Regions from separate parts of the Homo sapiens genome. Here region 1 is linked to region 2. Evidence: promoter capture Hi-C in human tissues and cell types (Jung and others, 2019). All regions are on one chromosome and are shown on one strand. Each heading gives the region's core, a stretch centred on a gene start or on the middle of the fragment in contact. The rest is flanking DNA. Distances are from core to core; before and after follow the strand shown.

The links. The method cuts DNA at HindIII sites, captures the fragments that hold promoters and counts their contacts. A contact is called where the count stands out against the background at its distance.
Region 1: a fragment that was not itself captured here is called in contact with the fragment with the promoter of ACSM1 in region 2 in 1 of the 25 tissues and cell types used here (stomach).

What each region holds. Positions count from the first base shown.
Region 1 is chr16:20,752,039-20,757,241 of GRCh38, forward strand. It overlaps a transcript of ACSM3 not described here. Among named protein-coding and RNA genes, the nearest start is that of ACSM3, 9.4 kb to the right of the region's middle. The HindIII fragment of the contact is 3,716 bases long and covers 1,011-4,726 here.
Region 2 is chr16:20,693,740-20,699,139 of GRCh38, forward strand. It overlaps ACSM1 (acyl-CoA synthetase medium chain family member 1), which reads right to left and starts at 3,941. Exons shown (of 14, transcript NM_001318890.3): 1 at 3,897-3,941. It also overlaps a transcript of ACSM3 not described here. The HindIII fragment of the contact is 5,047 bases long and covers 2,826-5,400 here.

The sequences.
Region 1 (5,203 bases), core at 1,619-4,118, 57 kb after region 2:
TATGAGCTATCTAAAACACTTGGCATACAGAAAACATTCAACAAGTGAGGCTGAGGCAGGAGAATGGTGTGAACCCGGGAGGCAGAGCTTGCAGTTAGCCGAGACTGCACCACTACTCTCCAGCCTGGGCGACAGAGCGAGACTCTGTCTCACAAAAAAAAAAAGTGGTCATTCTCTTCTACTCAGCCAGGCATGGTAGCTCACACCTGTAATCTCAGCATTCTGGGAGGCCAAGGCCAGAGGATCACTTGAGCCCAGGGTTTTAAGACCAACCTGGGCAACATAGTGAGACTCTGTCTCTCAAAAAAAAAAATTCACTTCTGCTCCGTATAAGGAATGGTCCCAACCCTAGTTGCTGTTCCTTGCCATTGTTTTTCTTGTGGTTGTCTCATGATAAAAGAAAACAGTTGATGGAAAATGATATGTTAGAAGACTCTCTCAAAAGCCTGGTCTTGGCTGGGAACTACATTTATTTATTAGAGTTTTTCTTAAGACAGTTGAATATAAGAATTATTCCAATCACTTATGTCGGAATCCTTCTTAGATAAAGCCTCAGTGGCACTAGGTTACTCCCTAGGATTAAAACTGGGTAGGGGTCGAGGGAGATTAGATTTCAGTTGAGTGCTAGAGAAGAAAACCTGATCTATTTTTAGAGAAAATGGAGATCCCTATGAAATAATAGATATAGATAACAATTATCAATAGCTGCATTAGGTGAAAAGCTGCTGGAAACATAATGAATGGATCAGGTGATGCCTTAACATCACAAAAGGAGAGCCAACACAACATTATGATTCTCCAGATGTGATGCAATAGAATTCTGCAAAGATATTTATGCAATCTTTTTGCTATAAATGGATCTATCCTCTAGATTTAACTATTAGTTTATAGAAACTACACGGGACAGAAAAATATGTTAAACTCAACCACATTGAATTAGCAAAATCAACACTGAATTTGGGAAACTTTAGAGGACAATGCCGTATGTTCTACAATGAATTACAAAGAAAAAGAAGAGAGAGATGGAATTTATAGATTAAAAACTTAAGATATATATCAATAAAATGCAATGTGTTGCCCTTGTTTGGACACTGAGTTGAAAAAAAAAAACAAATGTAAAACAAAATTGAATCTGGAAAAGGCTGGCTGGGTGGGGTGGCTCATACCTGTAATCCCAGCACTTTGGGAGCCGAGGTGGGCAGATCACCTGAGATCAGGAGTTTGAGACCAGCCCGGCCAACATGGTGAAACCCCGTCTCTACTAAAAATACAAAAATTAGCCAGGCATGGTGGCACATGCCTGTAATCCCAGCTACTTGGGAGGCTAAGGCACAGAAATTGCTTGAACCTGGGAGGCAGAGGTTGCAATGAGCTGAGATTGCACCACTGCACTCCAGCCTGGGTGACAGAACGAGACTGTCTCCAAAAAAAAAAAAAAAAAAGAGTGAATCTGGAAACATGAAATTTGAAAAATTATATTAATAGAGGATTATTATGGCTTTTTCAGGTATTAAATGGTATTGTGATTAGGTTTTAAAAGAGTCCTTATCTTTTAGAGATACATAAGGATTTTCCACAATAAGGAAGAAAAAGAGAGACCAAGAGAAGAGGTACAGATATACAGACAGAGAATAAAGAAGTAAAAGCTGCAGATACAGACAACTATTTTTGAGAAATTTTGCTGTAAAAAGGAGACAAGTAATGAAGAGGTGGAGGGAGACAAATGGCCCAAGAAATTTTATTTTCACATGGGAAATATTACCATGTATTTGTGCCTGACTTTGTTTCCCTATTACAACTCTTAAGAAAGAAATGAAAAGAAGAAAGAGAAAGAAAAGAGAGAGAGAGAAAGAAAGAAAGAAAAGAATGAAAGAAAGAAAAAAAAGACAGAGAAAGAAAGAAATTGATGATGCAAGAGAGAGGAAGAATAACTGAGGGAGTAATATCCTGGAGTAAGGGAGAGGGAATGGTGTCAAGTCCACAGTGGAAAAGGTGACCCACGCTAGGACCTTGGACAATTTTTCCATGGTCATTGGAAGGAATGCAGAAAGTATGGGCAGAGTTGTAAGAGTACTGGTTGGTTAACTGGTTAGGGGGAATAAGGACATTCTCTTCTGGCTTTTCTCACTTATAAATCTCAGTGAAATAAGAGGGGAGAAGGAGAGGTACTAGTTTAGAGAAACAGGGGAAGGAGTGAAACAGTTATCTCCAAGTGTAGAAATGTAGTGGGGTTGTCAGAGAGTGAGAACGGCCCACATGAATATTTTGCAGTCAGGAAGTTAAAGTGTGCTAACATAATTAAATAGGAGGCCATTAGACTGAGGTGGCTCTAACACTCAGGGTTCCCACATAAGCAAACTGAAGCCTAACTCAGAATTTAAAATAAAATGAAATATAAGCTCAGCCAGTCACAGGCAGCCAACTGGGCTTTAGTATATTGTCTTGAACTTCCCACCAGAACAGTGCAAATAAGGCAATTGTTCAAACCTTTACCAATCAAGTAATTTCTTTGCTCAGCTTCCACATTCACCCTATAAACACCCTCCCTTTGTGCCCTGCAATAGAGCCCTGAATTACTTCCCATTTGGAGCTGCCTGATTCATGGATCAGTTTGCTCACATGTATGCTTTAAAATTTTAATGTGCCTTAGTCTATCTTGTAACAAGTGTAACCATTGAGTTTAGGACCACCAACAAATACCATGTGCAATTCTCCAGAGCCATATTAAGCTTCTCAAGTGTCACAAATAAGTAGAATTATCTGGAGTTTTGCATAGAGCTGGGTTTTCCCACATGAGTATGGTGGAGGGAGAGCAGTACAAAGAATCTGAATGGCACAGAGAATCCAAGCTGGGCAGAAGATAAGTGAAGGCATGAAGGAGGTGTGCTTAAGTCAATGGACTTAAGATTTTAGAGGGGCAGAGGAATTATTGTGACGAAGGCTGGGGATGGTGTGAGAGAAGGCCAAGCAGGGAACAGGCCAGTGTCCATAGAGACCATGTCGGGAGCTGGAACTCTAGTCCCCACCCAACAATAAGAAGAAGCTCCTTGCAACTCAGGTGTCATCCAAAGCTGGGTAAAGAACCTAGATGTCTATATTCACCTGGCAATAATGAGGTGGTGCCCCTTCCCTGTCCCCTACCTGGGCAGTGTCAAAGCCAGCTAAAATATAAAGTTTAAATAAGGTGCAGAGTCTTATTACAAGAATGTCTGTGTTTGAATTGAAAATCACTCCTCATACCAAAACCAGGAAGAGTTCAAATGAATGAAGAAAGATGATGGATAGATGCTAACACTGAGATGACAGAAATGTTAGAATCATCTGACAAAGATTTTAAAGTAGCCTTGATAAAAATGCTTCAGTGAACAATTAGGTATGCTTGAAATAAATGAAAAAAATATATATCAGCAAAAAATAGAAGATATCAAGAACAACTAAATGAAAATAAATATTAGAACTAAAAAATTCAATGAGAAATCAAAAGCTTGGTGGATGGTATGATACTATAAAATATATATTTCATCTTCATTCCAGTTTCCTGGTACATAGCCGCTAAAACCCCTGGAATTTCTGAAGTGGTAAGTGCTTTTTATTATTATTATTATTATTATTATACTTTAAGTTTTAGGGTACATGTGCACAATGTGCAGGTTAGTTACATATGTATACATGTGCCATGCTGGTGTGTTGCACCCATTAACTCATCATTTAGCATTAGGTATATCTCCTAATGCTATCCCTCCCCCCCCCCCACCCCACAGCAGTCCCCAGAGTGTGATGTTCCCCTTCCTGTGTCCATGTGTTCTCATTGTTCAATTCCCACCTATGAGTGAGAACATGCGGTGTTTGGTTTTTTGTCCTTGCGATAGTTTACTGAGAATGATGACTTCCAATTTCATCCGTGTCCCTACAAAGGACATGAACTCATCATTTTTTATGGCTGCATAGTATTCCATGGTATATATGTACCACATTTTCTTAATCCAGTCTGTCATTGTTGGACATTTGGATTGGTTCCAAGTCTTTGCTATTGTGAATAGTGCCGCAGTAAACATACGTGTGCATGTGTCTTTATAGCAGCATGATTTATGGTCCTTTGGGTATATACCCAGTAATGGGATGGCTGGGTCAAATGGTATTTCTAGTTCTAGATCCCTGAGGAATCGCCACACTGACTTCCACAATGGTTGAACTAGTTTACAGTCCCACCAACAGTGTAAAAGTGTTCCTATTTCTCCACATCCTCTCCAGCACCTGTTATTTCCTGACTTTTTAATGATTGCCATTCTAACTGGTGTGAGATGGTATCTCATTGTGGTTTTGATTTGCATTTCTCTGATGGCCAGTGATGATGAGCATTTTTTCATGTGTCTTTTGGCTGCATAAATGTCTTCTTTTGAGAAGTGTCTGTTCATATCCTTTGCCCACTTTTTGATGGGGTTGTTTGTTTTTTTCTTGTAAATCTGTTTGAGTTCATTGTAGATTCTGGATATTAGCCCTTTGTCAGATGAGTAGGTTGCGAAAATTTTCTCCCATTTTGTAAGTTGCCTTTTCACTCTGATGGTAGTTTCTTTTGCTGTGCAGAAGCTCTTTAGTTTAATTAGATCCCATTTGTCAATGTTGGCTTTTGTTGCCATTGCTTTTGGTGTTTTAGACATGAAATCCTTGCCCATGCCTATGTCCTGAATGGTAATGCCTAGGTTTTCTTCTAGGGTTTTTATGGGTTTAGGTCTAACGTTTAAGTCTTTAATCCAACTTGAATTAATTTTTGTATAATGTGTAAGGAAGGGATCCAGTTTCAGCTTTCTACATATGGCTAGCCAGTTTTCCCAGCACCATTTATTAAATAGGGAATCCTTTCCCCATTGCTTGTTTTTCTCAGGTTTGTCAAAGATCAGATAGTTGTACATATGCGGCGTTATTTCTGAGGGCTCTGTTCTGTTCCATTGATCTATATCTCTGTTTTGGTACCAGTACCATGCTGTTTTGGTTACTGTAGCCTTGTAGTATAGTTTGAAGTCAGGTAGCGTGATGCCTCCAGCTTTGTTCTTTTGGCTTAGGATTGACTTGGTGATGCGGGCTCTTTTTTGGTTCCATATGAACTTTAAAGTAGTTTTTTCCAATTCTGTGCAGAAAGTCACTGGTAGCTTGATGGGGATGGCATTGAATCTATACATTACCTTGGGCAGTATGGCCATTTTCA
Region 2 (5,400 bases), core at 2,691-5,190:
GCTGTCCAGCCCCTGTGTATATTTGAGCTTAAAATCTCTAACCTAGGCCAACATCCCAGGAGAGGCAGGAATTTCCCCAAAGTCATGATGCAATTTTAATATTGTAAAAAGTAAAATAGAGGTTCCTCTTCAAAGACTTTCCTCCCCATCTAATTAGGAATAAATAGTAACTTCTCTTAAAAGCAAAATTTATTCAAAGTCCTGTGCTAAGATTCTTAAATATCTGCTAACCGTAATAAAGAAATCAATGTACTTTATGTTCTTAGCTCCCACAATTTAGCCTAAATATTTGCCCTGGCATTCTTATACTGGTCCAAGCAAGCATTAGGCCATAGCCTGTTCCTCTTGCTTATTTAAAAGTGTTTTAATCTTTCTCAGCATTTCACGAGTTACTTCCTCTTTCCTTTGTTCTCCTCTACCTTTGCCTCTTTAAAAAAGTTCTAAGTTGCTAGCCAATCGGGACAAATACAGAATGTGAGGTCCCGTTCCAGCCAGTGGAAACCGGACACAGCAGTAGGGTGGATGCGTCAGGTTATAAATGACCCTGTCTCCTTTGTTCTATGTACTCTCCTGGCAAAACTGCTGGCAAGTGTACCATTTCTGCAGGAAGTAAAAATGGCCTTGCTGAGTAAATTAAATTTACATTCAAGTCCTATTTCTTTACGGCACCAAGGAACAAACATTTCAAACAATATTGTAGCCAAGTTGGTTCTAGAAGCCCATCACCTCTGTTACATTTTCCAACACACACCTCCTTCCACAGGCATGAGCTTAGTTTGGGTGAGAATATCAAACTCAGTTGCAATTTTTCTATGCAGGTGTCTATATGACCTCAGGGTCTTCCTTAAAATACAAACTCACCATTTTTCCTGAAGACAGTCCAAACAACCCCTTACTAAGTGACTAAAGACCAAAACAAAAGGGAGAGATATAGTGAGGGAATCCATTAACCAGTTATCATGGTTTGAACTGTGTCCCCCATGAATGTATGTGGTGAAGTACGAACCCCAATATTTCAGAACACCACTGTATTTGGAGATTGGGTCTTTAAAAATGTAATTAAGTTAAAATGAGTTATTAGGGTGGGCCCTAATCCAATATGACTGGTGTCCTTATAAAAAGAGGAGATTAGGACACAGACACACACAGAGGGAGACCATGTGAATATGAAGATAGCCAAGGAAAAAGACCTCAGAGAAAACCACCCTGATCTTGGACCTCCAGCCTTCAGAACTTTGAGAAAATCAATTTCTGTTGTTTAAACCACTCAGTCATTAGTAATTTTCATGGCAGCCCTAGCAAACCAATGTACTCCTCTTGATCAAATAAAGAAGAAATGACTTTGGCATCATCTCACAAATGTGTTTGTGATTCTAATTTAATCTTCGTCACATGAGAGGGCCAAACACAGTGCCCAGCTGTGGAGAACTGTGGTAGCTGAAACAGCATGGCCCTAGAGATCAAACAACACGGGCTCAAATTCCAGCACTTTCATTTCCCACCCACATAACTTGGGGCAATTTATTTAACCTCCCTATAAAAACATAGGCATATTGGCAGCACCTATTGCCTGAAGCCATGGTGATAAATGCACGATATCCTGCAAAAAGCATTCAGCACGGACAAGTATTTTAGAAATAAGAGCTGTTGCTAGTTAACACACTTTATAGGGAAGCTCTTATAGAGTAGTTAAGCCAGAGGAAAAAAATTTCCTTAACTTTTGGAGTTAAGGTCTAAAGAGAAGGAATGGGGATGAATACCTGAACATAGACACCATAGGACTGGTATATGTCCAGCTTTTTCACTGATTATCTGTCTATCTATCTATCTATCTATTACCTATCTATTATCTATCTATCATCTATTTATCTATCTATTACCTATCTATTATGTATCTATCGTCTATCTATCTACCTATTACCTATTTTCTATCTATCTATCATCTATCTATCTATCTATCTATCTAGATATATAAGAACCTGATCTCCAAGTGTTGAGGACTGAAAATCAGATATCTATATGTCTATGTCTGCGTCTATCTCTATCTCTGTATGTATGTTAAGCTTCATTTCTAAATCTATTTCTGTATCTATATACCAATATTTACATTTATACCTATATCACTATCTGTGTATATCTATACATTAATATTAATGTCTATAACAATAACACATGTACACTGTAGTCATGTGCCACAATATGATGTCATTGTCAGTGATGGATCACATATACAGAGTGGCCCATACAATTATAATGACATATTTCTACTGTACCTTTTCTATGTTTCAATACACAAGTACTTACCATCGTGTCATGACTGCCTACAGTATTTAATACAGCAACAAGCTACATAGGTTTGTAGCCTAGAAGCAATGGGCTATAGCATATCGCCTATATGTGTAGAAGACTATGCTTTGTGGGTTTGTGTAAGTACACTCTATGAGTTCCCATAATAACAAAATCACCTAACAATGCATTTCTCAGACGTATCTTGGTTGTTAAGTGATGCATGTCTCTATCTCTATCACTATCTCTGTCTCTATCTCTATCTCCGTCTCTGTCTCTGTTTCGATATCTATTTCCATCCACATCTGTCTTCAGATTTGACTTCACAAAGCTTAGTTTGTCTATTTCTCACCGTGCTGGACATAGTAAGTGCTCAACAAAAAGTTAGATTCTTCCCTTCTTTGTCATAATTCAGAAAACTGAGTGATGAAAGTCAGAAAGAGAAAAGCCAGTGTGCCCACAAATTATCTGAGTTATAGAAAAATGTATTTTTTCTTTCTCAAGTATTTACTATAGATGTACCATGTACAGTTTTAGATACTATTGGAGATTAATTAAACTGAAAGAGTTCCTACCCTGTTAGAGCATATCATTAAAGCACATCCTATGAAATCATTTTAAAGAACAATTTTCTGAACTGCTTAAAGTGCATTCTGAAAGCAATTTGACATGGTAGCTTTGAGAGGCAGCTGGGCTCCCCACTGTATTCCCAGATACATAGTGCCTTGAACAGCTCCTGCAACTAAGCTTTGACTTCACAGGACTTGGGACTGATAAAGCTATTTAATGAAGCAACATACTTACTGTGTTATAGGGTATCCCAGAGTTACAGAGCCAGGGCTAGATGTTTGTCTCTGTTGTCTAGCAGCTGGGTCTTTGGTGCTGTTCATGTCTCTGAACTTAAGCGCACAGTAGTAATACCTTCTTCCCAGCTCCCCATAAGGATTAGTGTGATAATTTACTTGCTGGCACTGAATGAAGTGCACGGTAAGGACTCAATAAATGTTGAGGTACCTTTTAACTCCCAGCAAATTCTGAAGCCAACCCCCTCCCCATTAGATGTTAACCATTTTTTTTGAAACTGTCACCTGGACTGGAGTGCAGTGGTGTGATCATAGCTCACTGCAGCCTCAATCTCCTGGGCTACAGTCATCCTCCTGCCTCAGCCTTTCAAGTACCTGGGACCACAGGCATGTATTACTATGCTTGGATAATTTTTTTTAGAAGGCATTCACTTTATAGAAAGTGAGCCAACTTCTGCATAGATAGAAAAGATTTCCTTCAAACATTCATCTCTGACTTTGTGCCTGTCTCCCACGGCTCACCACATTCAGAGCTGCCTGACACTAAACCAGTCCCCATTTACATGCCAGCCACTGTGCTAAACATATTACATGTACGTTCCTATTTATTCCTCTCACCCAATATCACCATTGTCATTTTGCCTCTAAAATGAAGTGCCAAGAAGTTAAGTGACTTGCCCAAGGTCACTCAACTTAAAAGTAGCATTGCCAGAACTTAAAATTGGATTACACACACACACACACACACACACACACACACACACACACACACACACAGATAGAAGCTGACCTTCACCTCTGTCTTACCTGGTACTGTTTAGGACGTAGCTGAACTAGGTCCCTGGTAGGTATGGAAAAGGAGGTTGAGCTCTCTTTTGTAGGTTCAGTTCTCTCTGATCAGGTGATCCGCAGGATTGTGCACCCAGCAGAACTTGGCTTCTGGCCACAGCGAAGGGGGACCTTGAACAGAGAACTTGTTAGGAATTGGGTAATTCAGTAGGGGGAGGAGATGCTCAGGTAAAATAGGACAGAAACAATTACAGGCCTCCACGGAGAGATAATCACTTAGAAAACAAACCATGTGGGCCGGGCGCAGTGGCTCGCGCCTGTAATCCCAGCACATTGGGAGGCCGAGGCGGGCGGATCACGAGGTCAGGAGATGGAGACCATCCTGGCTAACACGGTGAAACCCCGTCTCTACTAAAAATACAAAAAATTAGCCGGGTGTGGTGGTGGGCGCCTGTAGTCCCAGCTACTCGGGAGGCTGAGGCAGGAGAATGGCGTGAACACGGGAGGCGGAGCTTGCAGTGAGCCGAGATCATGCCACTGCACTCCAGCCTGGGAGACAGAGACTCTGTCTCAAAAAAAAAAAAAAAAAGAAAAACAAACCACGTATACGAAGTCACCTCCAATTCCGGTGGCATGGCTAGGGGTGTGAATGAACTAGATCCAATGGTGCATTTTCACTAGTTCTCTGTGGCTAACCTGCTCCCCCTTCCCAGCCCTACATCACCATAGTCTCCCTTAAATGACAGCTGAGAGTCAGTGTAGCCTAATGGATAAGAGCCTGGGCTCTGGAGGTCTGGAGGCAGAAAGGTCTGAGTTTGAGCCTTAGGTCTGCCACTTAACCTCCATGTCATCTTTGTGGACCTTCTTGCTCTGGGCCTCACCTCCCTTAATTGGTTTTCGGTTGCTTTTGAGACAGAATCTCATGCTGTCACCCAGGCTGGAATGCAATGGCATGGTCTTGGCTCACTGCAACCTCCGCCTCCCAGGTTTAATTGAGTCTCTTGCCTCAGCCTCCCAAGTAGCTGGGATTATAGGTGCCCGCCACCACACCCAGTTAATTTTTGTATTTTTAATAGAGACAGGGTTTCATCATGTTGGCCAGGGTGGTCTTGAGCTCTTGACCTCAGGTGATCTGCCCGCCTCAGCCTCCTAAAGTGCTGGGATTACAGGCATGAGCCACAGCACCCAACACCTACCTTATTTGTAAAATAGGAATGATAACAACAATACCTACCTCCCAGGGTGTTTTCTTTGCTTCTTCATTTGTTTGTTAGAACTAGATGAAATAATTTATAAAAAGCATGTAGCACACGGTGCTGGGCATAGTCGATGTTGGCTCTTTTTATTCACTTGGGATTCTCAGAGGAACAATTTGGTATCCTGGTAAAATGCAGGGTCTTTGGAATCCCAAAGTCTTGAGCTTAATTAAGTCCAACCTCAGGCACTCACAAGAAAGCTCTTGGGTGAACCATTTTCCTTTCAAAGCTTGGTCTTGACATTTGTAAAATGAAGCAGGATTTGT